Linked DNA regions of Homo sapiens: all the other regions are linked to region 3. The links are contacts of gene promoters, found by promoter capture Hi-C in blood cells and fetal thymus (Javierre and others, 2016). All regions are on one chromosome and are shown on one strand. Each heading gives the region's core, a stretch centred on a gene start or on the middle of the fragment in contact. The rest is flanking DNA. Distances are from core to core; before and after follow the strand shown. Region 1 overlaps COL8A1 (collagen type VIII alpha 1 chain). Region 2 has its middle 4.4 kb from the start of GABRR3. Region 3 holds the start of DCBLD2 (discoidin, CUB and LCCL domain containing 2). Region 4 overlaps COL8A1 (collagen type VIII alpha 1 chain). Region 5 holds the start of COL8A1 (collagen type VIII alpha 1 chain).

Evidence for each region. Contacts are between HindIII fragments. The CHiCAGO score rates a contact against its expected background, and 5 or more counts as called.
Region 1: a fragment that was not itself captured here is called in contact with the fragment with the promoter of DCBLD2 in region 3 in 4 of 17 cell types (M1 macrophages, naive B cells, naive CD4 T cells and 1 more); the score reaches 7.2 in M1 macrophages.
Region 2: a fragment that was not itself captured here is called in contact with the fragment with the promoter of DCBLD2 in region 3 in 8 of 17 cell types (activated CD4 T cells, monocytes, naive CD8 T cells and 5 more); the score reaches 8.2 in activated CD4 T cells.
Region 4: a contact is called between a fragment that was not itself captured here and the fragment with the promoter of DCBLD2 in region 3, in 1 of 17 cell types (naive CD4 T cells). The highest score is 5.3, in naive CD4 T cells.
Region 5: a contact is called between the fragment with the promoter of COL8A1 here and the fragment with the promoter of DCBLD2 in region 3, in 2 of 17 cell types (total CD4 T cells and M0 macrophages). The highest score is 7.8, in total CD4 T cells.

What each region holds. Positions count from the first base shown.
Region 1 is chr3:99,754,531-99,757,591 of GRCh38, forward strand. All of the region lies in intron 2 of COL8A1 (collagen type VIII alpha 1 chain), which reads left to right. Among named protein-coding and RNA genes, the nearest start is that of CMSS1, 62 kb to the right of the region's middle. The HindIII fragment of the contact is 1,029 bases long and covers 958-1,986 here.
Region 2 is chr3:98,038,131-98,041,342 of GRCh38, forward strand. No RefSeq gene overlaps it. Among named protein-coding and RNA genes, the nearest start is that of GABRR3, 4.4 kb to the left of the region's middle. RefSeq lists an enhancer at 1,215-1,509. The HindIII fragment of the contact is 1,472 bases long and covers 562-2,033 here.
Region 3 is chr3:98,900,407-98,903,765 of GRCh38, forward strand. DCBLD2 (discoidin, CUB and LCCL domain containing 2) reads right to left here and starts at 1,289. Exons shown (of 16, transcript NM_080927.4): 1 at 716-1,289. The coding sequence starts at 920. It overlaps LOC105374002 (a long non-coding RNA gene), which reads left to right and starts at 1,608. Exons shown (of 2, transcript NR_189121.1): 1 at 1,608-2,111. RefSeq lists enhancers at 188-904, 905-1,620 and silencers at 728-1,417, 1,558-1,607. The HindIII fragment of the contact is 5,361 bases long and covers 1-3,359 here.
Region 4 is chr3:99,785,941-99,789,253 of GRCh38, forward strand. All of the region lies in intron 2 of COL8A1 (collagen type VIII alpha 1 chain), which reads left to right. Among named protein-coding and RNA genes, the nearest start is that of CMSS1, 30 kb to the right of the region's middle. The HindIII fragment of the contact is 3,668 bases long and covers 1-3,157 here.
Region 5 is chr3:99,636,760-99,639,966 of GRCh38, forward strand. COL8A1 (collagen type VIII alpha 1 chain) reads left to right here and starts at 1,835. Exons shown (of 4, transcript NM_020351.4): 1 at 1,835-1,905. It overlaps LOC124909401 (a long non-coding RNA gene), which reads right to left and starts at 1,921. Exons shown (of 2, transcript XR_007095981.1): 1 at 1,828-1,921; 2 at 609-1,175. The HindIII fragment of the contact is 3,484 bases long and covers 1-3,207 here.

The sequences.
Region 1 (3,061 bases), core at 222-2,721, 850 kb after region 3:
CACTCATGGTGTTTGTGGGAGAATTAAAGAGCTCAATAAGAAAGATACACATTTCCTTTATTTTTCTGAATACTGTACTTGGCCTGTGCACCTGAGCTCTGCATCCCTGCCTGTTCTCTGCCTCCCAAGGGTCCTCACCAAAGAACTCCTACAGAAAGATCACATATTTGCCAGTGGATTGAGGTTCAACCCCCTCTCACTCCAACCTTCTCTTACCAGAGATCTTCTTGGATTTAAAAACCAGGTCCCTGATAATCCTTTTAGCTCCTTATCTAAAACATCTCAGTTACCAAATAATTTATCTCAATAGACCAAACCAGAGTTATCAAACCAAAGTACTACAGTACTAGGTTTCTTTGCACCTGTATATGTGTAACATGCTAAGACTTGCTGGCATCAAATTCATGGTAATGAAGGAAAAATAAACATAGAGTCAGAGGAATAATGGGTAACAATTAAAATACAGTAGGGTAAACTATCAGTACCTCATTTTAGTAGATTTCTTGATGTCATTTCAAGTATTTGCACATATTTAGTCACCAAAGCAACCCTAAAATTAGGCTAGATAAGCTTATTATCAACACCATTTGAGAAATAAAGATATTGACACACAGAAGTGTAAAGAAAAACAAAGGAAATTGAAGCAAAGAAACTTTAAACAACTTGAAAAAATAAGTGAGGGTTCATATATCCTAGTTATTAGGCCTATGCTTGGCCCCACAATTATAGTTTAACAATCAAATCCTGAAATAAGATGACTCCCTCTGATAGTTGAGTTTTTTAAAAGTTCTTTATACAAATATAGTAGAAGTAAATGAATAATTAGACTTCAAGGATAGTAAACACTCCATTAATTCACTCAACCAATATGTGTTGAGAATCTGCTATGTGGCTGGCACTGTTTTAGGTTGGGGAGTTTAGCAGTGAATGAGGGCAAAAATGCCATTCTACCCTTAAAGCTTACATTCTGTCTAGTTGGAGAAGAGTTGATAAATGTGAATATAAATAAATATTTAATACCATGTTGATCATGAAGAAAAATCAAATAAGGGAAAGGGATAGAGAATGATAGGATGAGGGATGCTGTTTAAAATTGAATGGTCAACACAAGCCACTCTGAGGAGGTGACATGTGATCTGAGATCTGAAGAAGGCAAGGCCATGCAACACAATGATCTGGAAGACAGTTCAGGCAAATGGGAAGTCCCAAGGCTGAGAACCAGTTTGGCTTGTTGCAAGATGGCAAGAAGACCACTGGCCAGAGCCTGGTAACTAAAGAGCAGATGGTGTCAAAGAAGAGAGCGGAGCCAGATCGCTTAGGTCTTGCAGGCTGTGGAGGGGAGTTCAGAGTTTACATGAACTGGGGTGGGGAGCCACAGGTGGATTTTGAACAGAGTGACAGGATCTGGTCTACTTCTTTAAATCATTACTCTGGTTTCTCTGAGGAGATTGGACTCCGCACATGAATGGAGACAGGGAGGTAAGGCACTGGTCCAGGCAAAACATGATCGGTGCCCAGTGACTCAGGATACATTTTCATTAAAGAGATCATAAAACTTGCAGATGGATTGGATGTGTGAGAAGAAGAGATATCGAGAATGTCTCCTGCACTTTGAGCCTGAGCAACTAGATAAGTACGAATACCATTTATCAAAATAGGGGAGCTTGGGGTAGAATCATTTTCTGAATCTTATAATCCTCCAATTGTACCAGTGAACTCAATTTGAGAATTCATTTTTGAAAGTGAAAAAGACTTTTAGTCCAAGAATCTTTAGAAAATGTCACCACCTGTTTTAGGATAAGCCATGTATAGCAATAATTATATTCTGCCACATGGAGTATTCCACTCTTAGAATTCTGAACCAGACCATGGTCCTGATATGATGTAATATTTCTAAGTGTTCCTTTGTAAAAATAGTTTCAAAGACTCATGAATTATAAAATCATGCCTCCTGTTTAGGACATGTTTATAAATATGAATAATAGAAGCTTAGCTCCTAACTATTTCAAGAAGTACAAGGAAAACGTCCACAGTTCAGTTAAAAAGAATGTTAAATATCGGCCTGAGATTTATACTCTTGAGAAATAAATGTTACAGTAGAAATGGGAAGAAATGTGCTTGGTCTCTGAGCCAGTGGTTCTTTTATGGGAACCAGGGTCTTCAATTTCCAGGCAGCTACGCTGTGCTGAACTTGGACTCAAAGATTTGGGGACAGTACCATCACGTCACCTAAGCATGATCAAGAAAACACTCACTTTGGGGATACAAACGTCTTAGCCAAAATCAGCAGTAAATCCAGCATAGAGCCAAAACTATGTAAACAGTAGTGTAAAGATCCATATGCAGAGAAAACTGAAGGATCACTAAATTCCAAGGAAATGTGGTTTCTTTTTCAGTCCCTACTTTTTACAGAGAATGCTCCTTTTAAATATTTTAGCTTCTCTGATGGATCTGAATTAGCTATGGTCATTTTTGTAGATGAAGAAGAAACGAAATTCTAATGGCATATAAACTCTAGAAAGACAGGGACTTTTCTGTCTTCTTGCTGTATCCCCAGCAATTAGAACTGCACCTGGCAAATAGTTGGCATTCAGCAAATCTTTGTTGAATAAAGAAATGAATAAAGAAAAGCTTGAATAAATTGCTGAATTTAAAGGGGAAAAATAAATTAGACAGGAATCTTTTCTTTCTACTTGTTTTTATATCAAAATTCATTTTGTCAGGTGAAACCTAATAAAAATGTTGGCAGAAACTTTTCTTCCTCGGGGTGCAACTCTTGTCTAATACACTCTTTCTCTGGTGTCACAGTTAACCTCTTGTTGACCATTCATGACATTGACTAAGCATTAACAGATTTTTATCTTAGGTTCCTACAGATTTTATGGGGTCTACATTTCTCACCCATTCTTCATACTCTTTGCTGGGGAGCACTGCCGACCTGAAAAGTTAAACAAATAACTACATAATTGTCAGGCTGGTAGCCCCAAAAGATGACTTCTTTTGACTGCCGTATTAATTCTGTCTAATCTTCTAAGATCCATGTCTAAGATTCTAGCCTGAC
Region 2 (3,212 bases), core at 48-2,547, 860 kb before region 3:
AAGGAAGAAATAAAAGCAGTTTGTTTTTTGATGATGAATTTTAAGTGGGAAATGGTCTGCATAAAAATAAAAATAAGGCAATGGCTTACACTAGAGAGAGTTGACTTACAGAAAGTCTAAGGGTTTTAGTTCAATTACAAGAAGGCATCTGCCTCTGTTGATGCTGAGTTAGCTCCTTAACCTTATTCCTTTAGAGCTTCCCTTTGCAAGCTCAGTAAGCTTCTTAAGAAAAAAAAAAAAAGCAGAAAAGCACATCTGTCAGAACTAGAAAGTGGTAACTACCAGGAAACAAAATGAATCACAGGGTCACTGGAGAATTTCGTAGTAGTTTAAGCTCTCCCTTGCATAAATTGTCTCCTGTTTACTCTTCTTCCACTCTGATGATGTCAGTCAGCCAGTTTTTATTTCTTTGGCAGCGACATAAAGAGAAAATTTGGAAAGGATGGCTGTGTCGCCAATCTTGGGGTATGTAGCCATTATTTTGCCTATAAAGAGAAAACAAAAGAAAAGCTAAGGTCTTATTTAGACTGGATCTGACAACAGCAACAACAACAAATTCCAAGCTTCTATAAATTTCCCACTGTGTCTGCAGGATGTCATCTAGGCAAAATATCTTGATTTGCAAATTGTAGAGTCATAAAATCTTAATAGGGAAAGACTTTTGGAAATCATTTAGACTACATTTAATGTCTCTCCTGCTCTCTTTTATGCAGAGGAAGCTAGGACTAGAGAGGTTAAGTGATCAACTAATTTAGTTTTCATATTTACAGTCATGTGCTGCACAACGACGTTTTGGTCAGTGATGGACCACATATATGACTGCAGTTCTCCAATAAGCTAAGGTTAATTTATTATTGAAGAAAGAAAAATATTTTGTATAAATTTAGTATAGCCTAAGTGTACAGTTGACAGTAGTGTACAGTCATGTCTTGGGCTTTCACACTCAGTCACCCAGAACAACTCACTAACTCACCCAGAACAACTTTCAGTCCTGTTAACTCCATTCATGGTAAGTGCCCTATACAATTCATCTTTTATACTGCATTTTAACTGAACCTTTTCTATTTTGTCTATGTTTATACATGTTTAGATACACAAATACGTACCATTGTGTTACAATTGCCTATAGTATTTGGTATAATAACGTGCTGTATAGGTTTGTGGCCTAGGAGTAATATCATATAGCATAGGTGTGCAGTAGGCTAGACCATAGAGTTTTGTGTAAGTATACTCTACAATGTTTGCACAATGAGGAAATCACCTAACAACGCATTTCTCTGAGTTTGTCCCCGTCATCAAATTGCGCGTAACTGTTTTGCTTTGATGCATTGGAAATATAACTGGCCATGCCTAGAGCAGCCAGTAGGGGGCATTTGCTATCCTTCCAAAAAACCCTGCTCTCACTCAGAAATCCTGTTTCCTCTCCAGTTCCCAGAATTACCAGATAACCAGTAGATCATCGTTTTTTCATACCCAGTAGACCATCGTCCCCCCCACGACCCTTGTTTCAGTCTCTTATCACATCCTTCCTGGCATACAGAATCAGCTGTGATACGAGTGAGGACACCTGAAGAATCTTGCTCTGTTTTACAGGCAAGAGGATGACACTAAAGCAAAGCAGTCTTCATCATCGTGTAATAGCGCAAGACCACCACTAGATGGAAGCATAGGATACACATTCTCATCCAAATTACTATTGTCTCGAATTTGCCTCCTTAGGAAAACTTTCTTATGTAGTATTGGTAAATGCAAATTATTCAGCACTTGTAGTGAATAATTTTCACTTACCAATACTGGCAGAATGAACTGAAAAGATTAATGATATAATACCAAATGATTCAGATAAAAAACCCACACACCCCGTTATTGAGGAAAATGCAATTATTTACCTCGAATAATTGACTAATGAGGTTTATTGGTTTCTCTGATTGAACACTAATTTATTTTTAAGATTTCACTTTTTACCTACACCTAAGAACAGCATTTTGTTTGTGGGAACGGTAAGAGACAGAGGTGAACATTGTAGAAAAATAAGCTTTCTATTAGAATGAAGTACCTGTTATGAGTAAAGTTTCTAAAGGGCACTAAATAAAACACTAGGGCACATGGCTCTGGGACTGGATATGGTACTTACTGCATGATTTTTAAAAAGTTTCTTAAACTTCCTGGACTTCAATTTCCTCTTCTGTATTCATTAAGCACATGTATGTAGGTGACTTTTGAGACCCCTGAGGAAGCAATAAAACACAGTGGTTAAGAAGAGACAATAGCGATAATCTTTATTGGGATATTTGGTGTCAGTTTTTGTGGGTACAAACATCTATTCTTCCATTTACTACTTGTCTGAACATTGAAAATGACCTAAGATTTTTTGTTGAGTCAGTTACTTTATATATAGTTAAGAGGAATAATACTAGGACCTATCTTTTAAGGTTAAAGTCAGAATTTATGAGACTGTATGTTTAGCACAATGTTTGATACATTGAAGATACCATAATTGACAAAATTAATATCAGCTATCAATCTCATGCATCTTTATTAATGTAGTATGATCTTCCAATGTTATGAATTTCATTAAGATTACCAATAAGGTCCCTGTTTTCCAGGATTGAGATTTTGAGTCATCTTTAATTACTCCCTTTCAAAATCTTTCTTCGTTTTTTGCTTCAGAGCTACTTTTGCATTTTCCTGCCCTTTGTATTTCCATTGCCACCTGACCTTTTTGTCTCTAATATTAATATATCTCCCTGGGCTCCAGTGCTGCCACTGCTATGCATGCACCTACTTTCTGGGCCCTGGTACCATTGAGAAATATGCCCATATTTCTCAGAGAAGACTCCATCTGTGGGAGAAATGGAGAACAGAAGGGCCCAAGAAACTATTGCTGCTGCCATGGACACCCACAAATTTTGCCATCAAGTGCCCCCATAGTATTTGCTGACACTGACCTCAGCTGATGCAGCTGTTAGAATTTCATACCAATGCACCACCTTAGAGTAGAAGCTGCTGCACCCCATCTGACCAGCACCCTTGTACCCATCTGTGGTGAAGATCTTTCCCAACTGAAGCCTATCTGTAAGGTCTGGAAGAGGTAACTCCTTGTTCAAATACACACACATCAAAGCAAGGCTACAAAGAACTGGAAAAATCAAGAAAACATGATAACACTAAAGGAATACAAAAAAATCCACTAATGAATCCCTAAGAAATGA
Region 3 (3,359 bases), core at 39-2,538:
CATTATGATAAGTATTTAATAAACAGTTTTGCCTGTTTCTGGAACAGGTTTTTCAAGGATTGTAGGTGGAAAAAAAAAAAAGTTTTGTCACTTTCTGGAAAGGCTTACCTTTTTAATGTGGAGAGCTTCACTTGGGCAAATTAGCATAGCGTTGGGTCAGACCCAGTGTTTGACCAAGGCAGTCTAGACCACCAGCCTCAATGATGGATTGTAAAGAACATGTTCTGAATCCAAGACTCAGAGATAAGCAGAAACTATTCCATTCGCTTCAGAACCCGGGCTCTTTCACAAAGGATCATAATTACCACCACTTACCTTTAATAGGCTTAAGATGCTATTTAATTAACCTGCCTTCCTACAGTGTCCATCCATCCGTGCAGCTTAACTTTAGGGGTCATTACCTCCAAAGGTTCTTTTTCCTCCCCAAAATTTTCCCCAGAAGGACCTAATATCAACGAGGCTTTCATAGCAGGGTCTCACGTCCCCCTTTCAGAAAAATAAATGGCCTTGCCAAAAAGTAAAGCCGCGCCAACTTGGGGGACAGACGGGCAAGACCTTGCCTTTGCAACTCAACCCCGTGAGTACCCAGCCAGGTCCGGCCACGCACGAAAGCGCACCGCGCCTCCCTGCAGCGTCTGCAGATTTGTTCAGGGGCCAAGAGACCCGCAGCCCCGACGGAGGTTCCCCCGCCGCTCACTCCCCTGGGACCACTCACCTTGCTGGGCTCCAGCGTCCTCGAGCAGCAGGAGCAGGACAAGTAAGAGCAGGAGGAACAGAGGCATGGAGAAGGAGGAGGAGTTGGAGCAGGGAGGGAGGGAGCGGGAGAGGGGGAGCGCGGCCCAGGCGGGGGCGGCGGCCGCGGCCCGGACTTGGGGACACTGCGGGCAGCGCCTGGCTCTCACCACCGCCCGGCTCGCCATCGCGGCGGCCGGCAGTCTGCCTGCATAGTGCGGGTGCCTCGGCAGCCCCGCGCGCCTCTGGCCGCGGCACCCGACCAGGAGACGGCGGCAGCGGCGGGAGAACAAGAGGCAGCCCTCGCCTCACCCCGCGCCGGGACCCTTCCGCCCCTCACCCCGCTTTCACCTACTCCTCCTTCGTCCCTTCCCTCCGCTCCCCGCGCCGAGACCCCAGGCCGGAGCGCAGGGGAGGGGAGGGAAGGAAGCGGAGTCCTCGAGCCGCGGAGGACGGCCGCGGCGGAGCTAAGGAACGTGCCTCCCGCGCCGCGCTCCTCACCAGGGTCGCCGCTCGCCGCGCTCACCCGCGGCTCCGGCTAGCTGGCAGGCAGGCCCGCAGCCAGCTCCCTCGCGCTCCCTCTCGCGCGCGCCGGCCACGCCCCCTAGGCACCGCGGCCAATCCTCGGCCAGCTCTGGTCCGTCTCCTTCCGCGAAACCCAATCAGCATGCTCGCTCCTCGCTCGACCCGCTAGTTCTCCGGCCCATTCCTCGAGCTCCACCGCCCCTTACCTCCCTCTTCCAATCCCCTTCGGCCTTTGGAGGCGTCCCACCCGCCTCCTCCAATCCAGGTCCCGCCCTCCAGCTTCGGATCCCCGCGGCCCCCGCCCGGCCCGGGCGCCTGTTATTGTTGGGCCCTCAGCCCAAACTGATCCCGCAGAGGCGGCAGCCAGCTCGTCAGTGACTTCCGGGACGTCCCCCATCCCGCGCTCCCTGCTCCTCAGGCCCAGCTTGCTCCTTGCTCCTTTCTCCTCGCTCCTCCGACGCACATCAGACCACTGGAAGGGGGTGGGAAACCTGGATCCTGGGTTGTTTTAGCTGGGAGCTGAGTCTAAGGGACTTTTTTTTTTTTTTTAATGGCAGAGCGTGGCTTGTTTTGTTAAAACTGCCGCCAGTTGTTGCAACAGCTCCGAGTTAGAATAATAGATGCAGTGTTCAGTTTTTAATATATGTGTTCCCTGTTTTCTCTGCTCTTTTTATGGCGGGGGGTGGGGGACAAAAAAGTGTAAAACAAGATCCGTGCCGCAAAGGCAATTTAAACCTAACATCCCAACCTTCATGCAGCCATTCTACAAGGAGTTGTTGAGCACCTGCTGTCTATCTACAGAAATCTTGAAATGTGGAACAGAGATGGAAATATAGCATGCAAGTCAGAATGAAGTAAGTGCTAATTAGAGTCACAAGCAGTTTGATGGAGACTGTAAGCCTATGGAACGACAAAAAGAATTTTAGGAAAGAGGAATGCAGAGGTCTACGCAGTGATTTATTTTAGAAGAGAGTGGCCATGTAGGATGTTTTTAACAGCAGTCCCTGAAAGGACAATGGTGTCATTAGCAAATACAAAAAACTGCTAAGGTGGAACAAGTTGTGTGGGAAAGTAAGTTAATTTTGGACGTATTGAATTTGAGATGCCAACTTAGATAATAAGTGAAGCTATGTAACAGGCAGATGGATATTTTAGTCGAAAGCTCAGATTGAGAGCTTTGAAATTATGGCTCTGGGAGTCATACATAGCCATACATGTATACATATACATATGTATACATAGTCATACATAGATGTGATATTCAAAAACATGGAAGGGACTGATATCCTTCAATGAAAGTCTAAGTTGGAAAGGACTTTGGAGGTCGTATGTTTCAACTCCCCTGCATATTTCTTATACAATAATCTCTTTAACCAAATTTATTCAATTAACATTTATTAAATGCCTAAGAAACCCTATTATGCTCTAAGCCATTGTGGGCATTGGGCATAAAAAGTTTACTGAGAAGAACTTACATTCTGGAGGAGGAGGTGACATGTAAACAAACCTATTGTTATTAGTGCCCTGTTAGAGGTGTGGACTGGTGCCACAATACCACAGTGAACGGAGTTCAAAAAAACCCGTCAGTTTGAAATGCCAGTGTCTTGAATAAGAAACTAAAGTGAAAAAGGTGATCTCAGGCCAGAGGCAAAATAGGCTGGGTCACAGGCTCAATAGGGAATGGTGTTGATGGAGCTGGATTGACTACTGCTGACGTAATGGGAGGAACTGGAGACTAGTCTGGAAAAGTTAGGAGGGGCAAGATGTAAGGCAAGCTAAGAGTCAAGATTTTATTTTGTATCACTGGAAAATAACTAAAGGGTTCTAAGAAAGAATGACATTGTCAGTTTTTTTTTTGTTTTTGTTTTTGTTTTTGTTTTTTTTGAGATGGAGTTTTGCTCTTGTTGCCCAGGCTGGAGTGCAATGGCATGATCTCGGCTCACTGCAACCTCTGCCTCCCGGGTTCAAGCGATTCTCCTGCCTCAGTCTCCCTAGTAGCTGGGATTACAGGCATGTGCCACCGCACCCGGCTAATTTTGTATTTTTAGTAGAGCCGGGGTTTCTCCATTGTTGGTCAGGCTGGTCTCGAACTCCCGACCTCA
Region 4 (3,313 bases), core at 74-2,573, 890 kb after region 3:
GGAAAATAATTATCTTCCAGGAAAAAAGAATATCGTAAATAAAGAATTCAAAATGAGGTCAGGCATGGATGAAGAACATACTTTTGAAATGAGTCTATATTAGTGAAAGGTACCTTCAACTAACATTGTAGTAAACAGGACTCTTTCCTTTTTTCCCCATACGTTGTCTTAAGAAAGATACATCTCTCAACCTTCACATCTCTATCCAAAATTTACTTCCTCAGATGTCATTCCCTACCGTTCTTTCCAAAACATCGGAGCTCTTCCACTCTGTCATTATTGAACCCTTTATCCTGCTGCTATACATTGAATGTTTATGTCCCCAAATTCATATGTTAAAATATGACACCCCCCTCCGAAAGTGATGGTATTAGGAGGTGGGGCCTATGGGAGATAATTAGATCATGAGTGCAAAGTCCTCATGAACAGAATTAGTGCTCATATAAAAGAGACTCCAGAGAGCTCCCTTGCCCCTTTTATCATGTAAGGATACAGCAAAATGGTGTCATCTATGAACCAGAAAGTGGGTCTTCACTAGACAACCAATCTGCTGGCACCTTGATCTTGAACTTCCCAGCCTCATGAACACTGAGAAATTGCTGTTCTTTATAAACCACTCAACCTATGGTATTTTGCTACAGCAGCCCTAATGACTAAGACACCTGCATTGCTTTTTCAAAGCACTCAAATCTCAAATTATAAAATGTATTTTTAACATTTATCACCTGTCTCTCCACACTAGACTGTGAGTTCAATAAGATAATACCTCCACTCTCTAATTCACCACTGTATCTCCAATACTCAGAACATTTCCTGTTCTGAGTGTTCAATAGGTGTTCAATAGGTATATCTAATGAATGAATTGCCCTGAGAAATGCAATCAAGAGAGAATTTTCTTTGAGAGGCATGGAAAAACCAGGAAGGCAATTCTGGTGAACACTGGAAGAGGATTCTGCCTGACTTTCCCTTGCTTTAGGGTGGCAAATCTGAGGGTCTTGAGAGACTACAAATCTTGTACAAGTAGGAGGCACAGAGGACCAGCCCAGGAACTGATTAGAGAGGCTTATACACACCACACACAACAGAGACACACATACATACACAAAGACATGCTGTGTTAGCCTATGTGAAAGGGAAAGTTGGATTCAAGGCAAGGACCAACAGATTAAATATTTAAACATTCTTCTGTATAGTAAGCCAATGAGGATAAACGTACAAATAGAATGCTGATGAGCATTTAAAATATCTATCACATTATTCTGTTAATATATGTATCACATTACTCTGTTATGTACATTACAGGTCATATGAGGAATCTGAAATTCTCTGCAGCCCTGCTCAAATATAGGAAGCCATTTAGGGCTGTTCAAAGTATCTAGGATTGGTTATTCTTGACACATGAATGAATGACTGCCTTGGTTCAGCTGTTCTTTTTCTAAATCATTTTTAACAAGTGCATTTTAATGGCCATTACTGTTTTATTCATGTTAGGTTATCATTATTGCAGTTAACCTCACATTTACTTTGCTAGTATCTTTCTTTGAAAATCTTTGACATTTTAGTTGGTTTTGATTTGTCTTTCTGGTCACACTCCATTAATAATAACTTAAATCTGAATAGTCCTTTTTGGCTTATGAAGAATTCATATTATCATTTGTACCCCTGAACAGCTCTGAGGGATGGGCAGAGATTATAATTGCTATTTTACAGGTAAGAAAACTGAGGCTTAGTGAAGATAAAGGACTTGTCCAAGGTCATAGGCATGAAGAATGGCAGAGCCAAAACTTAAATAAAAGTCTTTTGACTTCTTTGACAGTGCTTTTGTCATATGACATGACACCCATCACTAAGCCAGCCTGGCTGGCAAAGATTCAATGTTCACACACATTAGATATGCTTATGTTCAAGAACACAAATACACACACACACACACACCCACACCCACACACACACACACCAGCTGTCAAACAAATAGAAATCAAAGAAAATATTAAGGAGAACTCACAATATTATTGTGTCCCACATTCTCAGAAAGAGAGGCATGAAAACCCACTATCACAATTTCTTCCCAGCAAAAATTCCAAGGCTCCTTCTTTCTTGCCAGGTGTTTGTATAAAGTTACCCAAATTTGATGTTCTTTTGAGTGATTTGGGAGAACCCCCATACCACTTTGACCACCAAAAATATCCTCAGGGACAGGAGAAAAATTAGTAGGAATAAGTAAAGCAGTAAATTCTAACCAGGGCCCTTATATAAATATTCACGTTAAAACTGAACAAAGTTTATTTAGATAAAGAGCCAGAGAAATGGCAGAAGGCAGACCTAAAGAGCTGGTTTACAGGACAGATATGCTGAGCCTATGAGAGGAAATAATTCAACTGGTATTCTTCCAGGCATTTCATCTCCTTCCAGTTTTCCAGTATTTCATTAGATTGTCCTGGTTTAAAGATTATGAAGTATAATCCAACATATCCACTGAATTGATGGAAGGCTGAAGGGCCAAACATGCTAGCTTATTATTAAAGACTTCACCACAAGTCTGGGGTTCCATAATTAAATTCATTCATCCCCAAAAGTAGAATTAAGTACCAGCTTATACATTACCAGATATTACCACACATTTCTGGTATGGATTAACACTTTCAGATCTCTAGTAACTGTCTTACAGACATTGAATGTTAGAGCTAGAAAAGACTTAAGGGAACATCCAAGTCATATTTTAATAAATGAAGAACTTAAAGAAATTTGTTTAGATGCACATAACTAGACAAGGAATAAGTACTGATCTTTGAGTGAAAAAAGCAAAAAATAGAAGTGTGTATAGTATACTGCAATTTATGTTTGAAAGGGATGTATATGATATGTGCATATCCACAGACTATCTGAAAAATATGAGGAAAAATTGTTGCTTCAAACATAAGGGATTTTAGATACTGGAGAACAGAAGTAGGAGGAAAATTTACTTTTTACTAGATATCCTTTGCTACTCAATAACAGTTTACACATCTGTCACCCCCACTAAGAGTACAAACTCCTTGATGGTAAGGCCCACCAGCCATATTATATTCATCTTAGTAATCCAAAATGGGCCTAGCAACTGTTTCTTCATTTTTTCCAGGGAAAAAATGATTTGTTAGTGTATTTAGAAAGATTGTAAAGCTTGAATTTTGTGATAGGGATTCATTTTAAATATTTTATTAGGTGTTTTATTAACCAATCCTTTTGTAGCCTGTATACACTCTTGGCATTACCCTGGAATAGGATATTGCAAAATCAACGCACATTTTCTAAGAAGTAGAAAACTATGATCCAG
Region 5 (3,207 bases), core at 585-3,084, 740 kb after region 3:
ATTATTATCCAAATGGCACTACTGGGTATTTTCTTAATAGATTCTTTTAAAATGCTTTTTTATAGTTGTGGGCCTTTTTTAGACGAATAGTTCTTAAGAAGAGGAGGGGATTTTGTCCCTCAGCGACATTTGGCTAAATCTAGAGACATTTTTTATTTTCACAGCTGGGTGGCGAGTGCGGAGTGGGTACTGCTACTGGCATCTGGTGGGTAGAGGCCACGGACACTGCTTAACATTCTACAGTGCACAGGAGAGGTCCCTACAACAGAGAAATATTCTCCCGAAAGTTTCAGTAGTGCTAAGTTTGAGTAATTCTGCTCTTCACCATCAAGTTTCCTTCTCTTGGAGCCTGCTACCAGCCAATGACATCAGGATCTAACCTGAGACGAACCTAGGTGTTCTATACGGCAGCCTGGTGTACTGAAGAGTGCCTAAGGTTTGCAAGCTCGCTAGCTGTGGCTCCCCCTCTCGCTAGCTTGAGCTAGTTATTTAAACCCTTAGAGATGCCTTTCTTTAAATTAAAAAAAAAATAAATAAATCTGCACAATATGAATCATACCTACCTCATAAGGTTGCGGTGAACACTGAATGAAGTACATATATACATATTCAGTACAAGTTCGTTCCTTTATTATTTCCAGCCTACCCATCCCTCCCCCCTCCCATTCCCGCCTTTTCCCCCTCCCGGTACTGTATCTCCCACCCCAAGTCTCAGGTTCTCTTTTAAAATGCTTTAATTCCTTTGGTGGCAAAAATCAGGCTTGGGCTAGGAAGTGAGTCACCACTCAGCAGCGAAAGGAGCTTGTTTTTCTTTCTCTGAATGCATTTCTTAGTAATTTCAGACTGATCCTTTAGCCACTTGTTGGTTGAATCCTCTCTTAATGTTTAAGACACACTGAGAAAGAACTGTGGCACCAAGACGTTTTCCGATTGTTAGGAATGAGAGTGTTTTAAATACCGAAAATAACCAGAGGGCAGAGAGCTCTGAAATCCTACGTTACATAAGCAGATGCTGGAAGACCCAGGCTGGTTCTGAGGTTCCTGTCTCCACAAGCAAGTCCACGCGAATCCTCCCCGTTGCTGGATTTACTTTAATGCTGCCGAAGTCTCAAAAGGGGCCTCTGGATGCTCAGAGGACAGGCAGCGCAGGAACTTCCTTGTCAAATAAGCCTTGCCTGGAGGGAGAGGGATGGGGCGATTTTCACCCGCGGGCGGTGGGACGGGGCTGAGGGCTGGGGGCTGCCTGGCTCCAGGCCATGTCAGTGCCTCCAGCTCCAGGTCCGGGTCCACCCTGAACTTTGGCTCTGCTGCCCGGACGCCCAGCTTCACCTCCCTTGCCTCGCTTAGAAACCCTTCAGTTCTCCCGGACCGCTATGTAGCTTTTCAAATTCCCAAATTCACAGAAAACACCTTCAAAAGTCACAATCACCCACAACTCCCTCTGCCAAAAAATGTCATGCAAAAACGGAAAATACTCCGATTCCCCTTTCCTCCCAGACACTCTCTCTCTCTCTGTCTCTGCTATTCATTTTCTCCCCCACCTTTCCCCATCTGTGGTCAAGATCCCTTTCACTATTTCTAGTTCCCTCTCTTTTTTCCCTTCTCCCTCTCTCTCCCTTTTCCACTCCTTCCTCCGTTGTGACCGCGCTCCCCCTCCCCCCGCCCCGTCGTCTCTCCTCCGCCTTGCGGGCTCCAGTCTCTGCCCGCCCCTCCCCAGAGAAGAGTGTCCAGCTCCTCCAGAGGCTGCCCGCCCGCCGCTCCTTCCCTGCCCACCTACTATGAGGAGCAGCTCCTCCCACCTGCCCATAAAAGCCAAGTGCATGTTACCAGCAGCGGATCACAGCCCTTCCCCGATCCTCTCCGTGGGAGCCAGCGAGCCTCTCTCCCTGATCTTACGTGCTCAAGGTAAGACAGCACTTCTGCAGGCAGCTCACCTACCAGGGGTTGCTATGGGGGAATAAGTCACCCTCTGGCCAACGCGTTTGCTGTTTGGTTAGAGCTGATTCTTACGGATGCGCGATCCGCTGCTCCTTTAACTAGCAACTGGTTTGAAAACAAACTTCTGTTTGAATGGTAAAATAAAAGCTCCTTCAGGGAAGAAACAGCAGCATAAATATTGCGAAACCTTTCTCTTTTTAAATCACTTTTTCTCCTGTTGCTGACTGTTGCTTAGGTTAAAATGTATCTGTTTGGGGTGTTGTACTGACGTTTTTCACTGTACATATTTCACACATCAGTGGGGGCAAGGAAAACGTTGTCCCATTGTCAAAAATGTACTTTAAAAGAACACAGTTAACTTCCTAAAAATAGCACAGTCAAAAGGTCTGCTAACAATTTTGTGATGTTTTCCAAACCCCCAAGACAGCTTCTGTGAGTCCTTTAAAAAAATATCTTTCCAGGTTTTAGCGCTTGGAAAAAAATGATGTGAACGGGTGCCCTTTGCACGGGGACAGTAAGTAATCAGGTGGCTGGTAGATAGGAAGGAACAAATCCAAATTCACAAGCCAGGGTAGAATGTGCTCTCTCACCAGGCTATCTTTTCACGACATCCTAAAATGAGAATTACGATGGAACTAAGAAAGTGTATAAAAGAACTTCATGAATTTCTGTACACACACCTAAACATAAAGTGTTTCAATATGTTTCACAGTAAGAGAATAATACAGGCCAGATTATACAATACTTCTGTGCACACCAGATGGTTGTAAAGAAAGATCAGCGAGAAAGGCTTTGGAAGTTTTAATCCTTCTTTCCACCTTTTTTCCCCCGCATTTAGTAAATCACAACCTACCTGACTGGCATCCAATTATCAGAGATATTCAGTGTTTAAGCTACCCTCTTTAAAAGAAAATGATCTCTTCTTATTCCTAAGGTAGAATAAATGTGCACCTGTGAAAGGAAAAACATACTCCACAGCCACTTCTGTAAAACCAGACACTTGGTCCATGAAGTTTGCCATCAAATTCTGTGGGTTGTGTGGGATGAAACTCTCTCAAGTGGGAGAAAAACCCTCTTCAAATGTTTCCTCTGGGGAATTGCTCAAGACCACTTAGAGAAGGCAAACCAAAAGTACCAGTCAGGAAACCAAACCACTCTTTTAGCCCTTAAGGTTCTTAAAGTAAGAAGAGAAATGTTTCACTTTTTTATTTTTTTGTTTGTTTATATTATCTCATGTGGAAAGAAAAAACTCACCGAAGCTGTATGAAA